Linked DNA regions of Homo sapiens: regions 1 and 2 are each linked to region 3. Evidence: promoter capture Hi-C in human tissues and cell types (Jung and others, 2019). All regions are on one chromosome and are shown on one strand. Each heading gives the region's core, a stretch centred on a gene start or on the middle of the fragment in contact. The rest is flanking DNA. Distances are from core to core; before and after follow the strand shown.

The links. The method cuts DNA at HindIII sites, captures the fragments that hold promoters and counts their contacts. A contact is called where the count stands out against the background at its distance.
Region 1: a fragment that was not itself captured here is called in contact with the fragment with the promoter of KMT2C in region 3 in 2 of the 25 tissues and cell types used here (hippocampus and ovary).
Region 2: a contact is called between a fragment that was not itself captured here and the fragment with the promoter of KMT2C in region 3, in 1 of the 25 tissues and cell types used here (dorsolateral prefrontal cortex).

Annotation. Positions count from the first base shown.
Region 1 is chr7:152,761,202-152,764,947 of GRCh38, forward strand. The region is part of intron 1 of ACTR3B (actin related protein 3B); the gene reads left to right. Among named protein-coding and RNA genes, the nearest start is that of ACTR3B, 3.3 kb to the left of the region's middle. The HindIII fragment of the contact is 3,230 bases long and covers 1-3,028 here.
Region 2 is chr7:152,744,076-152,748,460 of GRCh38, forward strand. No RefSeq gene overlaps it. Among named protein-coding and RNA genes, the nearest start is that of ACTR3B, 13 kb to the right of the region's middle. The HindIII fragment of the contact is 4,449 bases long and covers 1-4,320 here.
Region 3 is chr7:152,434,584-152,438,953 of GRCh38, forward strand. It overlaps KMT2C (lysine methyltransferase 2C), which reads right to left and starts at 1,420. Exons shown (of 59, transcript NM_170606.3): 1 at 1,043-1,420. The coding sequence starts at 1,203. It also overlaps the pseudogene FABP5P3. RefSeq lists enhancers at 387-436, 477-706 and silencers at 1,187-1,246, 1,627-1,676, 1,767-2,056, 2,097-2,436. The HindIII fragment of the contact is 14,314 bases long and covers 1-4,370 here.

The DNA of each region.
Region 1 (3,746 bases), core at 164-2,663, 330 kb after region 3:
CTAAAACACAAGCCAAAATCAGCGTTGTCGATACTACAGCTCCCCTCCCTCAATTATTGACACCCTTAACTCATGCCCTCCCCCAATGGGTTCACCTCAGGTCCCCTCAGGTCTGGTTGTGTCAAGAGTGAAACCAGTGGGTGAAAGTATTTTTCATTTCCACATTTGCATGTGAGATTTTTGCTTTGTAGTTTTAGTCTTGCAGAACTATTAAAATATAAAGGAATTCTTGGTAGTAGCAATAAAATAATGCTCACAGAGTTGTCATACCTTTAAGATTAGTAAGTCGTGGACCTTACTCATCTTTCTTGCTATAAATACCTAAAATGTCGTGCTCAGTTTTGACCTTTTGAGGTAAGTGATTAATGTAACTTGGCTAACTTGGAGATTCAACTTCTATAGATCATTGTTTTGTGGCCCAAAGTCATGCTTCAGAAGTTGGTGTCAAGACTTAGAAACGGTGGCAGGGAATCTCCATATGAATTCCCCATATCGAGTGTATGGCCAGAAGGAGCCTGAAAGAGCCCGAATTTACCAACTTGAGCACATCAGTAGTTCTTACATTTCCCAGAGAGCCAAAATGATTTTTGGATTTAGTTTTGCCTCAAAATAGGACAAAAAGTGGTAAAATTCAGATAAAAATAACCAAGCCAAAGGAAAAGAACGGACCTAGGAAGTCACCCTGAGCTTTAGCCCAGTGGCTGCTGAAGTTGGTCCGCACATTCGACCTTAGTCTTCCTGTCTGACAACATCATAAGAGTCATGGTTATGTAATTCCTGTCATCAGAAATCAAGAGAAATACCTGTTTCTTGGGTGAAAAAAGCCTTTTTTTGTAGTACTAAATTGTAAAAGCATTGAGCTATACATAGTGGGCACTAATGATTTATTGGACAGTGTGATAAACAGTATTTTTTACAAATAAATTTCATCCCAGTATCCTTGAATCCTCCTCAGGTAAACCCCGAGACTACCTGAGTAAGCAGTGATGTGCTGGAGGCCAGGATAATATGGACAAAGGGATCTGCTGAGTCCAAAAATAAAGCTTCATCTATTTAAAGGGATGACTAGGCTGCATAGTTTTCAGAGAATATTTCACAACTCCGGTCTCACTTCTCTGAGCCAAACTTTTCAAATGAAGTCTTTTGCATTTTTCAACTTTTTTTGAAATAATTTCAAATCTACTGAAAGCTGGAAGAGAACAAAAAACTACTGTATACTCTTCTTCCAGTTTTACCAACTGTTAACATTTGCTTTGTCACTCTCTGTATGTCCATACATATTATTATTACTTTCCTGCACTGTTTGAGAGTAAGTTGCAGAGATCATACCCTTTTATATCAAAATACTTGAATGCGTACTTTCTGAGGACACATTTTCCCTTCTAGAATCACATTCCAATCATCAAAATCAGAAAATTTAACATACATACAGTAGTATCCTATATACAGTATGGATTCATGTCTTTTATGGAATGTCACCCATGAAAGACCTCCCCATCAGCGGCATACATTGCATCTGGTGGGTGTCATGTCTTTTAAGTCTAATTTAATCTGGAATAATTTCTTAACCTTTTTTTGTCTTTCAAGATGTTGGCATTTTTGACAGCCAGTTGTTACCTAGTGTTTCTCTGTGATAGATACAGGATATGCATATTTGTCAGGACTACCACAGAAGTCCTGTTGATCCTTCTTAGTGCATCCCATCGAAAGGCTTAAGATAGGGACTCGCCTCAGTCTTGATGAAGTTCACTTGGATCATTTGGAGAGGGTGATGTCCACGAGGTTTCTTCACTGTTCAGTTACTATTTTTCTTTGTAATTAATAAGTCATTTGGCTGGGCGCGGTGGCTCATGCCTGTAATCCCAGCACTTTGGGAGGCCGAGGCGGGCGGATCACCTGAGGGCAGGAGTTCGAGACCAACCTGGCCAACATGGTGAAACCCCGTCTCTACTAAAAATACAAAAATTAGCTGGGTGTGGTGGTGCGTGCCTGTAGTCCCAGCTGCTTTGGAGGCTGCTCAGGAGAATCACTTGAATCCGAGAGGCGGAAGTTGCAGTGAGCCGAGATCGGGCCACTGCACTCCAGCCTGGTGACAGAGCGAGACTCCATCTCAAAAAAAAAAAAAAAAAAAAAAAAAAAAAAGTCATTTGTGGGGGAATATTTTATGTAAGTACTCTATTCTTAAACTTTCATCCATTAGTTTAAGTATCCATTGGTGACTCTTGTTTTTTTCTTTTTTTTTGACAGAATCTTGTTCTGTTTCCTAGGCTGGAGTGCAGTGGCACAATCTCTGCTCACTGCAACCTCTGTCTCCCAGGTTCAGGGAATTCTCCTGCTTCAGCCTCATGGGTAGCTGGGATTACAGGCATGAGCCACCATGCCCGGCTAACTTTTTGTATTTTTGGTAGAGACGGGATTTCATCATGTTGCCCAAGCTGGTCTTGAATCCTGATCTCAAGCAATCCACCCGCCTTGGCCTCCCAAAGTGCTGTGATTACAGGCGTGAGCCACTGTGCCTGGCCCATTGGTGATTCTTGCCTGAATTACTAATTATGGTGATGGTTGCAAAATGGTGATTTTTGAACTCTATTATTCTGTCTCCATTTATTAGTTAACATTTTATTTTAAGGAAGAACTTATCCATAGGCCTCATTTGTTTATTGTCTGTATGAGTTGTCGTTCTGTTCAAAGAATGATAATCCATTATGCCGTCCTCATTGTTGTCAGTGGGTTATCTATTGCTTAAATTGTCCCAGATTTTGCCAAGTGAAGCTCATTCAGGCTGACTCCCATGTTCTTTATTTTTTATTTATTTATTTTTTGAGACGGAGTCTTGCTGTGTTGCCCAGGCTGAAGTGCAGTGGTGTGACTTCAGCTCACTACAACCTCTGCCTCCCGGGTTCAAGCGATTCTCCTGCCCCAGCCTCCTGAGTAGCTGGGATTATAGGTGTACACCACCACGCATGGCTGTTTTTTTGTATTTTTAGTAGAGATGGGGTTTTGTCATGTTGGCCAGGCTGGTCTTGAACTCCTAACCTCAGGTGATCTGCCCACCTCTGCCTCCCAAGGTGTTGGGATTACAGGAGTGAGGCACTGCACCTGGCCTTCCATGTTCTTTAGACATGTCTTCATTTTTTGAGCATTCTGGCCAGGCGCAGTGGCTCACACCTGTAGTCCCAGCACTTTGGGAGGCCGAGGATGTGGATCACGACCCGTGGTCAGGAGATCGAGACCATCCTGGCTAACACGGTGAAACCCCGTCTCTACTAAAAAAAAAAAGAAATACAAAAAAATTAGCCGGGCACACTGGTGGGCTAATTTTAGTAGTCCTAGCTACTCAGGAGGCTGAGGCAGGAGGATCGCTTGAACCAGGAGGCGGAGGTTGCAGTGAGCTGAGATCGCGCCACTGCACTCCAGCCTGGCAACAGCGAGACTCCATCTCAAAAAAAAAAAAAAAGAAAAAATAAAGCAAGGATATCTTTTTGTATTTTTTGCCTGAGTATCTGTGGCTTAGATTTTTAGAAATGGGATTTCTGGGTCAAAGGGCAAATGCATATGTAATTTTGCTAGGCAGTGTCAAATTACACTCATTAGTGTGCATTCTCACCAGTAATGTGTGAGGATGCCTGTGTCTTACAGACTCACCAATAGAGCCTATTGCCAATTTGTAAAATTACCAACCTAGAATAAATGATATCTTAATGTCTTTGTTTTGTGTTGCTGTAACAGAATACCACACACCGGGT
Region 2 (4,385 bases), core at 846-3,345, 310 kb after region 3:
AGATGGGGTTTCGCTATGTTTGTCAGGCTGGTCTCACACTCCTGATCTCAAATGATCCTCCCGTCTCAGCTTCCCAAAATGCTGGGATTACAGGTGTGAGCCCTTTTTATTTTTGAGACAAGAGTTTCACTCTTGTTGCCCAGGCTGGAGTGCAATGGCACAATCTTGGCTCACTGCAACCTCTGCCTCCCAGGTTCAAGCCATTCTCCTGCCTTAGCCTCTGAAGTAGCTGGGATTACAGGCATGTGCCACCATGCCCGGCTAATTTTGTATTTTCAGTAGAGATGAGCGTTCACCATGTTGGTCAGGCTGGTCTCAAACTCCTGACAGCAGGTGACCCACTCGCCTTGGCCTCCCAAAGTGCTGGGATTACAGGTGTGAGCCACAGCGCCCAGCCAGTGAGCCCTTTTGTAAGGGTGCTAATTCCACTTATGTGGGGAGAGCCCTCCTCACTTAATCACCTCCCAAACGCCATACCTCTCAACACCACTGCACTGGGGATGAAGTTTCAACATGAATTTTGGAGGGGATGCCACGTCATCATTCAAACCATATCAACATTCACACCAAAGCGAGGGGGATCTTGTTTACTAAACTGTGGGCTACCAGCTCCTGCAGTGGGTGGGTCCATGGGAACCAGAATCCAGCTTTGTGAAAATTAAGATTCAGCCACTTCAAAAGTGGGAAACTACACTTAGACCAGTTCCAGCGTGGTAGAGAAATGTGCAGCATGATGGCATAAGCATTCTTTTTTTTTTTTTGAGTTGGAGTCTCCCTCTATTGCCCAGGCTGGAGTGCAGTGGCGCAATCTCGGCTCACTGTAATCTCCACCTCCTGGGTTCAAGTGATTCTCCTGCCTCAGCCTCCATTGCCTCAGCAATGGAGTAGCTGGGACTACAGGCGCATGTCACCACACTTGGCTAGTTTTTTTGTATTTTTAGTAGAGATGGGGTTTCACCATATTGGCCAGCCTGGTCTCAAACTCCTGACCTTGTGATCCACCCACCTTGGTCTCCCAAAGTGCTGGGATTACAGGCGTGAACCACCACGCCCGGCCAGTATTCATCTTTATATAGGAATTAGGGGATGGGGAAATTATTAGTAATCTCTTTCTTGCTCAATAAGGAGCTTTGGGGAGTATTTTGGCTGAAATGTTTGAGTTACTATTCTAAATGCCTCTGTCCTTCTCAGGAATGAGACCTGCAGACCAGAATGGGAGAGATGGGCAGAAACTCTAGAGCTGGATGGATCTTTTTGGAAAGAGGGAAGAGTTAACTCATGAGAGAGAAAGGATAGCTGCTGCCAGGAGGAAGGAGGCTGGGTGGCTGACGGTGAGTCTTGGGCAGGTAGGCTGAGAAAGAGATGGTGAAAGGGGCATTGGAGAGGGTCTGCAGGCAGGAGCAGTGTGAGCGCTCACTCAGCTACTTGAGAGGCTGAGGTGGGAGGATCCCTTGCACCCAGGAGTGTGAGGCTACTGTGAGTTGTGATTGTCCCACTGCACTCCAGCCTGGGCAACAGAGCAAGATCCTGTGTCAAAAAGAAAAAAAAAAAGATAAGCTCAATTTAAAAGCAAGTAGTGCCCATGTCAAGCTGTATGCTTGTTTTTGTTTTTTGTTGTTTGGGGGGAGGGTGGGATCTTGCTAGGTTGCCTAGCTGTTCTCCAACTCTTGGGTTCAATTGATCCTATGGCCTCAGCCTCCTGAGTAACTGGAACTACAGGTGCATACCACCATGTCTGGTTGGGCTGTATGGCTTTGCCCTTGCATTAGGCACAAAGCTGTGGGCTTCCTGGTGAGCACCTTCAAAGCAGTCTTACTCAAAGAAGCATTGGTCAGGCCCTTAAAGTCACTGAAAACACTCCCAGTCACCATGGCATCTGATATGGTTTGGCTCTGTGTTCCCACCCAAATCTCACCTGGAACTGTAATCCCCGTAATCTCCACACGTCAAGGGAGAGACCAGATGGAGATGATTGAATCACCGGGGTGGTTTTCCCCATGCTGTTCTTGTGATAGTGAGTGAGTCTCATGAGATTTGATGGTTTATAAAGGGCAGTTTCCCCTGCACTCGAACACAGGCTCTCCCACCTGCCACCAAGTAAGACGTATCTTTGCTTCTCCTTCATCTTTGCCATGATTGTAAGCTTCCTGAGGCCTCCCCAGCAATGGAGAACTGTGAGTCCATTAAAACTCTTTTCTTTATAAATTACTCAGTCTCAGATATTTCTTCATAGCAGTATGAGAACAGATTAATACAGCATCTTCCAAGCAAACACTGAAGAGGGGGCTGGAACATTTTCCAGTGGTAATTTTTCTTTTTCTTTGTTTTTTAAGACATGGGGTCTCACTCTGTCACTCGGACTGCAGTGCAGTAGCGTGATCTTGGCTCACTGCAGCCTTGACCTCTGGGCTCAAGTGATCCTCCTGCCTCAGTCCCCCAAGTAGTTTGGACTATAGGTGCGTGCCACCATGCCTGACTAATTTTTTAATTTTTTTGTAGAGACAGGGTTTTGCCATGTTGCCCAGGATGGTCTCGAACTTGTAAGGTAATAAGGTAATTGTAAGGTAATAAGGTAATAAACTGCATCTTTATTCTTCACATCAGCCCTGTGAAGTCACTTCCTACATTTTGACAAGATGGAAACTGAGTCACAGAGAGGTTAAGTACCTTGCCTAAAGTAACAAATGCATCAAGCCAGAGCTGAGATTTAAATCAGGCAGTTTGGCCTCAAAGCCTGTATCTTTGACCAACATGGACTATTTGGCTCTGAATTACAGAAGTTCTGGCACCATGACCATTAAGTGTCTTTGGACACAAGGGAGAGCAGGTATGAGGACATGAAAAATTCAACATAGTTCATTTCTATTAATAAAAAGATGTCTCAAATCTTAGTAATATTGAGGATAGGTGTCTTTCAATCTTTTTTTATACCTTAGTTATAATCCAGATAACCAAAAACAGCTGTGTGATTTTGTCCACACAAATCTAAAGCTGAGAGAATCACGAATGAGAACAAGCTTGGCCCATGGCCTGCGGGCCAAATGCAGCCCAGGATGGCTTTAATGCAGCCCAATGCAAAATCGTAAACTTTCTTAAAACATTATGAGTTCTTTTTGTGATTTTTTTTTTTTTTTTTTTTTTTTGCTCATCAGCTACCATTAGTGTTAGTGTATTTCACATGTGGTCCAAGACAATTCTTCATCTTCCAGTGTGGCCCAGGTAAGCCAAAAGATTGGCCCGCCTTTGAGTTAGAAGAAGGCAGCTGCTGAGGATGAGGGCAGTAATGATATGGACACTTGCCATGTGACACTACTTAGCATTTTTATTTTTAAAAACTTTATTGATTCATTTTTGAGACAAGGACTCACTCTGCTGCCCAGGCTGGAGTGCAGGGGCTTGAACATAGCTCACTGTAGCCTTGAACTCCTGGGCTCATGTGATCTTTCTGCCTCAGCTTCCTGAGCAGCTGGGACTACAGGTACACCACCGTATCTGGCTAACTAATTTTTTTTTTTTTTTTTTTTGGTAGAAGTGGGGTATTGCCATGTTGCCCAGGCTGGTCTCAAATGCCTGGGCTCAAGCTATCCTCCCACCTCAGCCTCCAAAACGGCTGGGATTATAGGCATGAGCCACCATGCCCAGTCCTTGGTATTTTTATACACTAACTTTACAACTCAGAAAAAGCCTTTCTTACAGACAAGGAAACTAAAGCTCAGAGATATTAAATTACTCATACAAAAACATACATTTCTTTTTTTTCTTTTGAGATGGAGTTTTACTCTTGTTGCCCAGGCTGGAGTGGAATGGCACAATCTCGGCTCACTGCAACCTCCACCTCCCAGGTTCAAGCGATTCTCCTGCCTCAGCCTTGCAAGTAGCTGAGATTACAGGCATGCGCTACCATGCGGCTAATTTTTGTATTTTTAGTAGAGACGGGGTTTTACCACATTGGTCAGGCTGATCTTGAACTCCTGACCTCAGGTGATCCGCCCTCCTCAGCCTCCCAAAGTTCTGGGATTACAGGTGTGAGCCACTGCGCCTGGCCTCATTTCTAAAATGGGCTTTGAATGCAGGTCTTTGAGATTTCAAAATGTGGGCTCTTTTTATTCTGCAAAAAACAAGTACAGTTAATTTTATGCATTTTTCTTGGTATAAATTAATATAATTAAAAATGTTGGGGGCCGGACACAGTGGCTCACGCCTGTACTCCCAGCACTTTGGGAGGCCAAGGCGGGTGGATCATGAGGTCAGGAGTTCGAGACCAGCCTGGCCAACGTGGTAAAACCCCATCTCTAAAAAAAAAAAATATACAAAAATTAGCTGGGTGCAGTGGTACACGCCTGTAGTCCCAGCTACTCGGGAGACTGAGGCAGGAGAATCACTTG
Region 3 (4,370 bases), core at 170-2,669:
ATATCATCTCACGAAATGAGTAAGCACACACGCCATTCTACAACTTCGAGAGACATTCACAGTTCTTCCACGGCACACGCGAGAGCCACAGAAGCCGAGCAGTTCGCTGGCACTAAAACGGTGTCTTAATTTACAAGCAAAGCCGTCAAATAACCGTTCTGTAAGAAGACATTTCTGGTCCTCTAATAAGCTGGGGTCCAGCCCTACTGTACGCTCAAAGGCAGGCGACCCTATTCCCAAGCCCCTTACAGCTAAGACTTACGAGGGAAGCGACATTTACATCTGCACTCTCTCCGAATAAGTGCTCTTGGTATTCTGCCTTACGAGGGGACGCTGGCTACGTCTCCAAAACTTAGGCAGGCCGTTCCCCGAAGCTGGGGGATCCCACAGGACTTGTGCTTTCGGAGCCCGGGAGTGCGGTGCTGGGTGTTGGGGGAGGGGGGAGGAAGAAGTCAAATGGCTTCCTAATATATCATCAAAAGAAGAAAACACAGGTTTGGGACCAGGAAAAGTTCCAGGAGCAAGTCGCTGACAAACAAAAGCTGCACTCGCCCGGCCGCTTTCTTCTCGCCCCCAGCCCGCGCCCCGAGACCACCTGGCCCGGGCGTTTTGACAGCTCCGAGAGTTTCCCGAGCGCCGACGGCTCGGCGGTTCGCCCGGAGTCCGTCCGGGGACTACCTGGGCGCGCTCCGGGCTTGTTTTCTCAATGATCCAGCTAGGCCAAGACGCGGCTACGAGAAATTTCTCCAAAAGAAGAGTCGCGGAGAAGACCCAGTGAAAAGGCCCGACTGAAAAGTAAAGTGTGCGGAGCCGGGCGCCGGCGGGAGCCCGGGCGGGCGGCGCGGAGCGGGGGAGGCCGGGCGCGGGCGGCTACCGAGGGGCGCGGGGCCGGGGCCGGGAGCCGCCACCGCCCGCGGGCCCGCCCCGCCCCCACCCCGCCGGGGGGCGCCGGGGCGCGGAGGCCGCGGGGCGGGCGCCCGGTGACAGCTCCGGCCCGGCGCCGCCGCTGGCTCCCGGCCTGGCTCCCTCGCACTCAACTTACTTCTTTCTGGCTCTCTGGAAAGGGGAAGCGCCATCTTTGCGAGGCCGGCCCCGAGGTCTTTTGTCTGCGGCTGCGGGGCTCGGGGCCGGGGCTCCAGGCTCCTCGGGGGGTGGTGGCGGCGGCTGCGGCTGCTCCACGCTCTTGTCCTCCTCCGACGACATCCTAGTCACCAGGAAAGACACATGGATCCCGGTCCTCCTCCTGGGGGGCTCCCGCCGCCGCGGCCGCCGCCGCCGCCGCTGCTGCTCGGGTTCCTCCTCCCCGGCTCAGCCTCTCGCATTTCCCGCAGCCCCGGGAGCAGCAGCAGGTACCGGGAGAGGCGGCAACATGGAGCGAGCAGGACACGCACTCACACACATCGGCGCGGGCGCGCGCACCTCCGCGCGCAGGGGCCGGGCGGGGGGCGGCGGGCGGGGCGGGCGGTGCGGGGCGGGCGGGGCCGGCGGGTGCGGGCGGGCGGGGCAGCCGGGCGGGCGGGCGGCGTGAGGGGCGCCGGCCCCCGGGGTCTCCGCCCGCGGCCCCTCCCCCGAGCCGCCCGCGGCAGGAGGAGAAAGGGGCCCGGCGCGGGGAGGGCCGGCCGCGGGGCCCGGCGGGGGCGGCGAGGGGGTCGCGCCCCCGGCCGGCCGCCCCTCCCCCGCGCGTCAGGCCCGTCAGGCCCGGGCGGCGGCGGCGGCGAAGTTTTGACAGCTGCTCCAGTGGCGGCGCTGGGCGCCGGGCCGCGGCTCGCTCCTCACACTCGCTCTCTCACACACGCTCGCTCGCTCTCCCGGAGCAGGGGAGGAGGAAGTTTTGCGGGTGTGCTTGGACCCCACACACACGCCGCGCGACCGTGGCCGTCGCGCGAGGCCCGCGCCGGGGATCCCCCGGGGCGACCCGCACCACAGACCTCTCCAACTCGCAGCCGTCGCGCCCACACACCGCCGCCTCGACGGCCCCCGCCCGCTCCCCCACACTCGGCCCCTCGCCCGCCCCCCGCGCGCCGCCGCTGCCACTCACGGGCCTCGCTCCGCGCATGCGCCGCTCCCGCCGCCCGCGGACGCGCCGCCGCCGCTGACCTCACCGCCCCTCCCCCTCCCCCCCGGGTTCCCTCCCCCTGTGACGCGGCGGCCGGGCCCAGCCGCGACTCCGGCTCCGGCTCCGGCTCCGGCTCGGGAGGTAGCCAAGCTGTGGACCCAGAGATCCGGGATCGGGATCGGGGAACTGCGGGCGAGGGCGGGAGGGAGCCGCGGACACACGCCGAGGCGGCCGCGGTCGCCCGGCGCAGCCCGGCGCGAGGAGCAAATGTGCGCCCGCACGGCGAGGGCAGCCCGGGCTTCGCTGGTTCTCGCCGAGGTCTTTCCTCGTAGCGCCCACACTACGGGGAGGAAAAGGAATGGAGTCAACTTCGTTCGAATCCAACGCCAGTTAGTTTCCTTATTATAACGTCATTTTTTTTAATCCAGAAAAGGTTCATAAGGATGTAAGACGAAAAGAACGATGACAGCTCGAGAAATAAAACGGTTAGAGACAAAATAAGCCAATAAAAACCCAACCACTTGATTTTAACGTTCAGTGTGTTGTGATGAAGAGGCAAAAATCGAAGTACTTCTAAGCCACCTCTCATAATATGTAAAAATGGTAAAAAGAAAAATGGGGCTAGAATCCGCCTGAAAAATGCACTTTCTCAAGAAGGACAGTTACAAATATGGGATTCTGGATTTCTCAGGCTAATACCTAACACTTGGACGATGATCTATTCTGTGCTTTCCATTCACTATCGATTAGTTTATGAGAGTGAAAAAATTCTAGATTTGAATGGGGGGAAATAGTAAGACCTATCAACCATTTGTGAAGGATTGGGGTAAACTATCATTTAATAAGCATCTACTTTGGGCCTAGCGTTAAGAGGCACACTCTCATGTTGATTTCTTTTGATCTTCGCAGTGTAGTTTTAGTGTAAGGTAAAAAAAAATAGGCTCCTTTTCCAGCGATGTTTGCTTTCCCTTCTAGTAGCTAGGATGTTAACTTTAAACTGTGTCTTCTACTTGGGCAAAATACACACACTTTGATTCCCAGAGCCTATTCTAAATGAAAGCATAATTTTTTGAAATGGCTGAAATGAGGAATAACGTCAGATAGTCATTTGAATACCTTCAGGGTTTAATCCCTGCTGGCTCTTTCAAATTTACTAAATTTATAACCAAAGGAAATTTGGGATTGAGGAGGAGGCTGGCATGGTAAATGCAAACTAGAAATTAAAAGTGCCTGACGATTACACATAGAAATACAACATATATGTGACTAGTGATAAACATATGATGTGATCTAGTGAAAGTTTACTCAGTACAAATTTGAAAGCACCCTTTCTTTTTTCATTTTCTTCAGCACATTGTACTTTAAATAAAGTGTGCTTTCAAAACTGGATTATTGATCCAAATATTTAGCTGTGTTCCGTACTGAAATTAGAATAGGCACTTCCACGGTGAGTTTCACATGTACAAAATTATACATCAGGATAATTTACTTCCATACGCTTCTCCAGCACTTCTGAGAACTTAAGTGTCAGTGGATACAAATTGCAAGTCACTCCTGCTGGAGAGTTCACAAGAAACAAAGGGTACTAAGAGCAGAAAAGTGAGCCGAGTGAATGGAAGGGTAGAAACAGAGGTTTGTGCAGGGATGCTTCTGGATAGATGATGATGCAGGTAAGTAAACTCAGCCTGAAATCTCCATTCCTTTGGCCACTATGAGCAGGGAGTTGGGATCTGTTTTAAGAGAGCTGATAGCAGTCTCCTTGGCATGAAGTTATCATGAACAGAGCAAATCAAATATAACCCAGGATGCTGAGGAAGGATTCAAGGAATACTTATTCAACATAAATAAAGGTTTTCCAGAGGTTTTTCCGTCTCAGTCATCCAAATTACACAGCTCTGAGACCACAGTAGCAAAAATCTAGGAGGCAGGGAGCTGAGGTCCTTCAAAATTATGAAAGCAAAAAGGCAGGAGCATCTGGAAACAGTACCAAATACAACAGAAAAATATTAGAATGTGTACTTTCTAATAAGTATACATGTTAAATATGGGATTTTAAATTTAGGTAGATGTGTACTAACCTGTTAACCAATCATCTGCAAAGGGGTGAATTACAAGGGACTTTTACTGTCTAAAATATTTGAATATTTCAAAGCACATGTAGTAATCATCTAATCATATATATATATATATATATGTAGTTTTTAATGGGGAGGGAATGAGCATTGTTATCTTTGACAAAGAAAAACCAACATCTCAGAAAAATATAGGCAAGGAAGATTCTCAAAGCATCTAGCAAACAAGTGACAGTGAATAA